2 separate regions of the Homo sapiens genome follow, and region 2 is linked to region 1. The links are contacts of gene promoters, found by promoter capture Hi-C in human tissues and cell types (Jung and others, 2019). All regions are on one chromosome and are shown on one strand. Each heading gives the region's core, a stretch centred on a gene start or on the middle of the fragment in contact. The rest is flanking DNA. Distances are from core to core; before and after follow the strand shown.

Region 1 (3,562 bases), core at 1-2,500:
CCTAATAAACACCCCCAACCTTCCCCCAACTCCTCTACCCCCGCCCCCACCCCGGCACTCACCATCCTTCAAGTCCATGTGTGACCTGATTCTTCTGGGAGGTGAGACAAGAGCTGAGATACAGAAACTGTCACACTGACCCTCTGCGCTTGCAAAAAGGCAGAGGGTCTATTGAGCTGGTTAACACTTAAGCCGTCAGCTGATGGTAAGGCTAAAAGAGCACACTGTAACACACGCCCATTTGGGCTCCGGGAATCACGGGATCCTGCCCCTGGACACTGCCGTGGGGCTGGAAGCCCAGCGCCCCAGCTTTTGCACCCTGGCTCCTGCACCCGTCCGTCTGCATGCTCCACCTCCCATAAGGGGTTTCAGCAGGCAGAGACCGAACACACGAGCCACAACCCTGTTGCACGTCCTGCAAAGGGCTGTGGGAGGGCGGGGGCCGGGAGGAAATCAGGGAACTCTCCTGTTTCATTGTCACAAGACTTGCAAGGCTTCCTTAAGAGAGGGGTACACTTCCCCACCCACTGACAGCAAGTTTTGACCAATAGAAAGTGAGCAGAACTGAGGCATGCGGAATGTGAGTTTGGAAAGCAGCTTGTGCCAGTCATGTACAGGAGCTAATTGTTAAATTTCCAGGAACTTGGCAAGCCACTTGTTGGACTGTTTGTAGCTTGAAATCGGCCATTGTGGGAGCATTTACATCATAGAAATAGCAAACACTACATATCTGGACTTCCCCCTTCTCCCTCAAAGTTGGTTTACCAGCCCAGCAGGGAGCATGGCCCAGAAAAGTTGACCTTTCAGCCTGGAGTGAAGAAAACTGGTGGAGTACTGCCAAAGCTCCCTGCAGCCACAGTAATTCGCTTGAGAAATGGACCTTTAAGCCACTGAGTTGCAGGGGTTGTTCGTTACCTGAGCATCATCTAGCCAAAGCTGGTACACCATGCTGGTGTTTTGGTGAACACCAATAAGCGCCGCCTTCATCTGTCCCAACCTAGGTTGGAGGGATTTCTTCCAATAACTTGTGACATCATGCGCCTACAGCCTGCAAAGATGCAAACCGCGCTCTGAGACTCAGGCCCGGGAATTCAGGTCTTGGAAGGTTAATGCAAAGTTGTAAAACAATAGTTACATTTCAACCACACTCAGCTATTGCGTCATCTTAAAACCCTGGCCAACACAAATCTGTCGCTCGCGATCCTTGGCGGTTTCAGAGCGACTCCCCTACCGCTTTCGGGCGAAGGCCACACGTGACGGCCCCCCTTTCCCCGCAGACGTGTGAATGCAGCGCTGTGTCTTTAAGGGGCACGCGCGGAGGTTTTCCGTCCGGGACAAAATGTCAGCGAGGCGCCTGGAGGGGGATCTACCATCTCGGACTCCCGACCCGCCGCCGGCTCCGGCCGCGTTTCCCGGGTAAAGGGGTGAGTGTGGGCTTCCAGACTCGGTGGCGAGGCGGGCTGGGCCGGGCAGCGGGGAGCGCAGGTGAGCAGCGACCGCGGACGCCCCTGCCGGCCTCCCTGGCACCCGCGCGGGGCGTGCCCTTCGCTGGGCTGCCCTTCTCCGGGCCGGCTGTCGCGACTGTGAGAAAGCAGGTGGGCCCGGGATTCTGTGGCAAGGCCCCGCTCACCGTCTTCCAGTGCCTCATTCTTGCTCCTTCCCTGCACTCCTCTTTCGACAAGCTTGTTCGGAATGTGGAAATTCGTCACCACTCTCCTGCTCTCCCTTTATTAAAGTTGTCTGATTACAGTCTTTTCACTGGGCAAGTGACTGGACGCCCTGCAGTGGGTTCTTTCTGTAACTGGGACTTGCTTGATGTCGCCCACTTTCGGAGGGAGAAAGCGAATGCAAGCCAAAAGCTTACACCAGAATCCCCACCCCTCCCCCACCCCTCATGGCCCCCAAACAAAAGAATTTTCCGCTCCTTTCGGAGTCCGCTGGAGCAGTTTCTGTGATTTCTTGCACGAACCAAATGCCCGAGGCTTAGCAAAGCAAAAACCCCCTTGAAGGAAAAAAATAAATACTTACCACTAGTCGAATTTCTAATGAGCCAAGACTACAAAGATAAGGTGTTTAAGAGAAACAGTTGTAGAAACAGCTTAATACATTGACCTAATTAGGGTAATTATTTTCTGCTGTTTTTATTCATATGCTGACACCTTTTGGAGGCAAGAATAGCTTGAGGCAGCCAAGAATAAAAAAAAAAGTAGACAGCAATACGTATTATAAAAAGACCAAAAGCCCAAGCCAGGTAATTCTCAATTTAAAAATTAAATTAAAAAAATCTTTGAGTCACAAAGGCCTTCAAAGTAGGGCAGCTTTAAATTCCTATAACTCAGATTAAATTATGCATTTTTACAAGATAAAATGGATCACCACCTTAATCTTTAGGACCATATCTATTAAGCAAAGTAATGCAGACCTGAAATAAAGGTCCACTTTAAGGGCAGAACACTTCACAATTTTCATTTTTAAAAGTGCATTAATAGAGAGAGAGAGTGCTTCTCTGCCTTTTAGCTAATGGTAGAAATATCTAAGAGTTTGGCTTATGCCATTTAGGAAACAACTCTGATTCACCCCTTAATTACCTGTGAGTCCAGTGTATTTTTTACAGTCCACATATAACCTTTTTCTAAATTTTTACACATTTTACCATTTATTCCCCAACTCAGGTTTTACAGTTTGGAGGCATTTTTACTTGTCTTTTAACTTCAGCTAAGCCTTCAGCCTGGTGATTCCAGACTAATTTTTCTAATTGTCTGGATCTCTTTATAAATAGATTAATATATGGCAGTAAACTAATATTTCAACAGAGATGGACGGATAACAGATGAACTGTGGTTTTCTTGACACTTCAGTTGTCAACTCTAATTACTTGTATTAATTATTATGCTCTGCTTTCATTAAAGTCACTGGTGGATGAAGTAAAAGAAAATGTTTTTAGTGTTTCCACATATGTCTGTGTGAATTTCACGTTAGTGTGAATTTCTCATCTAAGATCCAGGCTCAACCAACATATATTGATTTAAACTCTGCCTGGTCAACCCAACTACAGTAAGTAGCCTTGAGTATAGAAGGACAAATAGAGGTGTAGTTAATCTGCTATGTCCTTTTGAGAACAGTGCCTGGTTCTTTGGCCTTTAGCCTGCCAAATATTTTTTATGTGCACAAGCATAAGTATAAAATAATACAATCAACTTTTGTAGGTGCTTTATAGGATGAGTCTCAATATTATAGTCATACCTTGTGTATATGCCCATGTTTATACAGATTATTCATCCAGGTTTTGATCTCTTCCTTTATTCTTTATATTGGTATTCAGGGACATCATACTGAGGAATCTGGGATTTAATCTGATAGTTCATCAGAAGGATAGAACTTCTTCAGAAATTGAGTCAAATGGAGAGATAATTAATGTGAATTTATTGTCTTCCACAGGCTTAGATTTAAGAACTCCTTCCAAATAATGGATACTCAAATGAAACTCAGCTATAGCAAGTGCAGAGGCATGGTACCAGCAACACTACTCTCTCTCCTTCCTTGAAATATCTAAAATCTACAT
Region 2 (3,548 bases), core at 310-2,809, 320 kb before region 1:
ATGTTCTCCTGTCTCAGTGAGTAGGCTTCCTCAGGCTCCCTTGCAGATTCACCTCCCCTGGCCCTCCTCTACAGATTGGAGTTGCTCAGAGATCTGTTCTGGGCCCCTCTCTCACTCTCTCGCTTCCAGAAATGATATTTTGTCTCCACGACTTTGGACACCTATAGCTAGGGACTTTCGATATACCTCCCAGCCCTCAACTTCCTTTGACCTCCAGGCTTGTACATTCAATTCCCTACCTGACATACCTACTGGAATATCTCACAGGTCTAACACTAAACTGCAGTCTTGTTCCCCTCTCTCCATAGAAATCACATAAACACACACAACAAAAAAATCAAAGACAAAAGCTGTTCACCTTCTGTGGTTTCTACACTGCAAAAGAAAGCACTTCTATCTCATGTCATTTTCTATCAAGAAAGCACTTCATGCTCACACCAAAAACCTGGGAGGGCCATGCCTGACATAATACTTTTCCTCATTCCTCTCCCTACCCTGGCAATATAATTCATCACCAAGTCCTATTGGTCTGCCTCAAAATATTTCTTGATCTATTCATTTCTCTCCACCTCCACAGCTATAATTCTAGCTCAGCTACTTCTAGAATAGCCCCCTAACTGACCTGTTCTCTTGCCACCTCCAATCGATTCTCTGCACAGAAGCTGGGTGTTCTTTTCAACAAACATATCTGGTCACATCACCCACCCCACACCTGAAACTCTTCAGTGGTTTCCAGTGCACATAAACTAAGATACAAACTCCTAACTATGTCCCTGCTGTCCAGAATGAGCTGAGCCCTGTACAACCTACATCCTCCTCCTCTCTCACCTGCTTACCAAGCTCCGGCCACTCCGACTTTCTTTCAGCTCCTTAAATGTTCCAGTCCCTCTTCGCCCATTGCAATGCTTTTTCCCTGGCTGTTCCTGCTACCCGGAGTCTTCTCTTCCTTCTTCTCCTGAGTAACATCTTATGCTTCAAGACTTGCTTCAAACATGACTGAGAGTTTCCCTGACCACCCTCTCTTCCAACCTACTTAAGGGCCCTACTCTAATTTTCTCTCACAGAACCCGCTTGTTTTCCTTCACTGCCCTGATTGTGACTTAGGATGAGGTGTTTATTTGCTATGTGTTTATTTGCCTGTTATTTGCTTCTTCCACTAGACTGAGCTCCATGATGTCAGTGTGATGTATTTTCAGAGCACGGCCCTGTGTGAGGGCCCCTGACTGCAGAGTGCAGGCAGCAGCCGCCACTCACCTTTGTGATGGGAGCCTCGATGGTCATGGAGTGGATCCTCGCCATGGACGGATAGCGACGATTCTGCAGGCTTGGTGCTGGAGAGAAGGCAAGAAAGCTGTGTCCAGTTCCGGTGGCTCAGTGTGGCTAAGTGCAGCAAAGGAGTCCCTTCATGGACCAGGGCCCGCTTCTCACAGGGCCACCCTCCCACCTAAAAAGCCATGAATTCACCCATCTCTTCTGCCAAGGCTGGTAGCCCAACTGCTACTTGCCTGAGTCTGGAAAGGCGATCTGGCCTGGAACTTTGGAGGCAGGAGGGCTTGCTGAGCCCCAAGTCCACAAGGGGAATTTCAGAGAAGGTTGATGAGGTCCAAAAAGGCCTCATTCCAACAGCTTAATGACCCCCACACGGCTCACTTTCCCCCAAGTCACCCAAACCCAACTTTTGCAGTTCCATGACTTTCAGTCCTAAGCTGCTGGCCGTGTAACCAGATGACTGTGCAGCCAGCTTGAGAGGGGAGGCAGTTCATGGTTAGGGTCAGGGCGGAGGATTGAGCCCATTCTCAGTCTGAATTAGGGCCAGTCACTCCGCCTGCCCATGCCTTTAGGCTCTTAACTCCCAGAAACCCATGGAAGTTCTAGTTCAAATCTACAGAAGCTTTCATTTTTTAAAAAATCTTTTATTTTTCTACATAGTTAATGTTTATACTTGGTTTAAGATGCCAAGGGTAGAAGCTTGACTTGAAAAGCACTGTTCTCATCAGATCTTCCTACCACCCCCTCTGAGGCAGGCAGGAGGGGGAGTCCCATTTCATGGATGGGATCACTGAACCCACCCCACATCAGAGCCTGCCTCCTGCTCAGCCACCTCTGGGGTCCCCCCGCTGCTAGTGCAGCAGCCATTGCAGACCTGCATGCTCTTCAGCCTCCACTGTGCCCGTACTGGAAAGAAGACAGTCCCCTTCAAGTTCTGCTCCAAAAACAGTGAATCCAGTTCAAATTCCCTCATCCCTTATCCTCTCAGACTAAAATATTCTATCTATCCGCTCAATCCATCTCAAAAATCTCTCGATTCATATTCTCTTTATATTATTGGTTACTGTCCCTCACATGCCCTGTGAATTATCATCTTGTCTCTAGCATCTTTGGTTCTTGCTATGTCAGCCACTTTTTAAATTTTTTTTATTTTTATTTTTATTTTGAGATGGAGTTTCGCTCTTGTTGCCCAGGCTGGAGGCACGATCTAGCTCACCACAACCTCCGCCTCCTGGGTTCAAGCGAATCCCATGCCTCAGCCTCCTGAGTAGCTGGGATTAAGGCATGCGTCATCACACCCAGCTAATTTTGTATTTTTAGTAGAGAGGGGGTTTCACCATGTTGATCAGGCTGGCCTCGAACTCCTGACCTCAGGTGATCCGCCTGCCTCAGCCTCCCAAACTGCTGGGATCACAGGCATGAGCCATCGCACCTGGCCTATGTCAGCCACTTTCATACTCAGTCTTCCTACTGTGTACAGAAGGACTGGAAAGTCCCTCCCTTGTCCTTTCTGTTGACTCTCTTAAGTTACCAGCCTCATCTCTCTTTTCTATCACAGGCACTAACCATCCCCTCCTCACACCCCAGAACGTGTCCTCCCATTTGCCAAATAAAAATCAAATGAGCGAGTGAAATCTACTAGTCTGTTGTCCGCTCTCGAGTTCTGATATCCACAGCATCTAACACTGCTGGCCACCGCCTTTCTCAATCCCCTCTTGTTCTTGGTTCATGTGACACTGCACTCTCATGGTCACCCCCAGCTCTTCTGTCCTCTTTACTGGCCCTATTTCCACTGCCCACCCCCTGGCTGAGACTATGCCTTCAGGCTCAGGCTTGGACCCTCTGTCCTTTCACTACATGCACATCACACACCCCTTAGAGATGTTCTTCTGCTCCTGGCTTCACCTGTCACCACTAGGACTGCCAACTCCACATCTATAGCCCCGAGTACCAGGGTTGCAGGTTAGCTTCCTAGCCATCTCCATTAAAATAAGATTCATCATCTTCTCCTTAACCCCCAACCTAGCAAAACCTGGAGACGTTTCCATTTCTGTATATATGACTTAAAATTTCCCAGACACCGAGGAATGAAATGTCAGAATCGTCTTTGACTTTTCCATCTCCCTGCAAATCCAGTTGTTTACTTAGGCCTGGCTGATGGAACTCAAAAAATGTTTTGCTAAATCCTGCCTTGCAGGGCAGAAACATTTTGCTAAATTCTGCCTCACGATTTCTCTGTGACATTTTATTAAGAAGTGAGTGCATATAGCTGGTACACT

Evidence for each region. The method cuts DNA at HindIII sites, captures the fragments that hold promoters and counts their contacts. A contact is called where the count stands out against the background at its distance.
Region 2: a contact is called between a fragment that was not itself captured here and the fragment with the promoter of ZBED3 in region 1, in 2 of the 25 tissues and cell types used here (aorta and dorsolateral prefrontal cortex).

What each region holds. Positions count from the first base shown.
Region 1 is chr5:77,084,973-77,088,534 of GRCh38, reverse strand. It overlaps ZBED3 (zinc finger BED-type containing 3), which reads left to right and starts at 1,250. Exons shown (of 3, transcript NM_032367.4): 1 at 1,250-1,424. ZBED3-AS1 (ZBED3 antisense RNA 1) reads right to left here and starts at 1,820. Exons shown (of 3, transcript NR_182763.1): 1 at 916-1,820. It also overlaps a transcript of PDE8B not described here. RefSeq lists enhancers at 1-387, 388-990, 991-1,592 and a silencer at 1,409-1,578. The HindIII fragment of the contact is 7,057 bases long and covers 1-3,562 here.
Region 2 is chr5:77,405,164-77,408,711 of GRCh38, reverse strand. PDE8B (phosphodiesterase 8B) reads right to left here. Exons shown (of 22, transcript NM_003719.5): 13 at 1,255-1,331. Among named protein-coding and RNA genes, the nearest start is that of WDR41, 85 kb to the left of the region's middle. The HindIII fragment of the contact is 6,497 bases long and covers 1-3,548 here.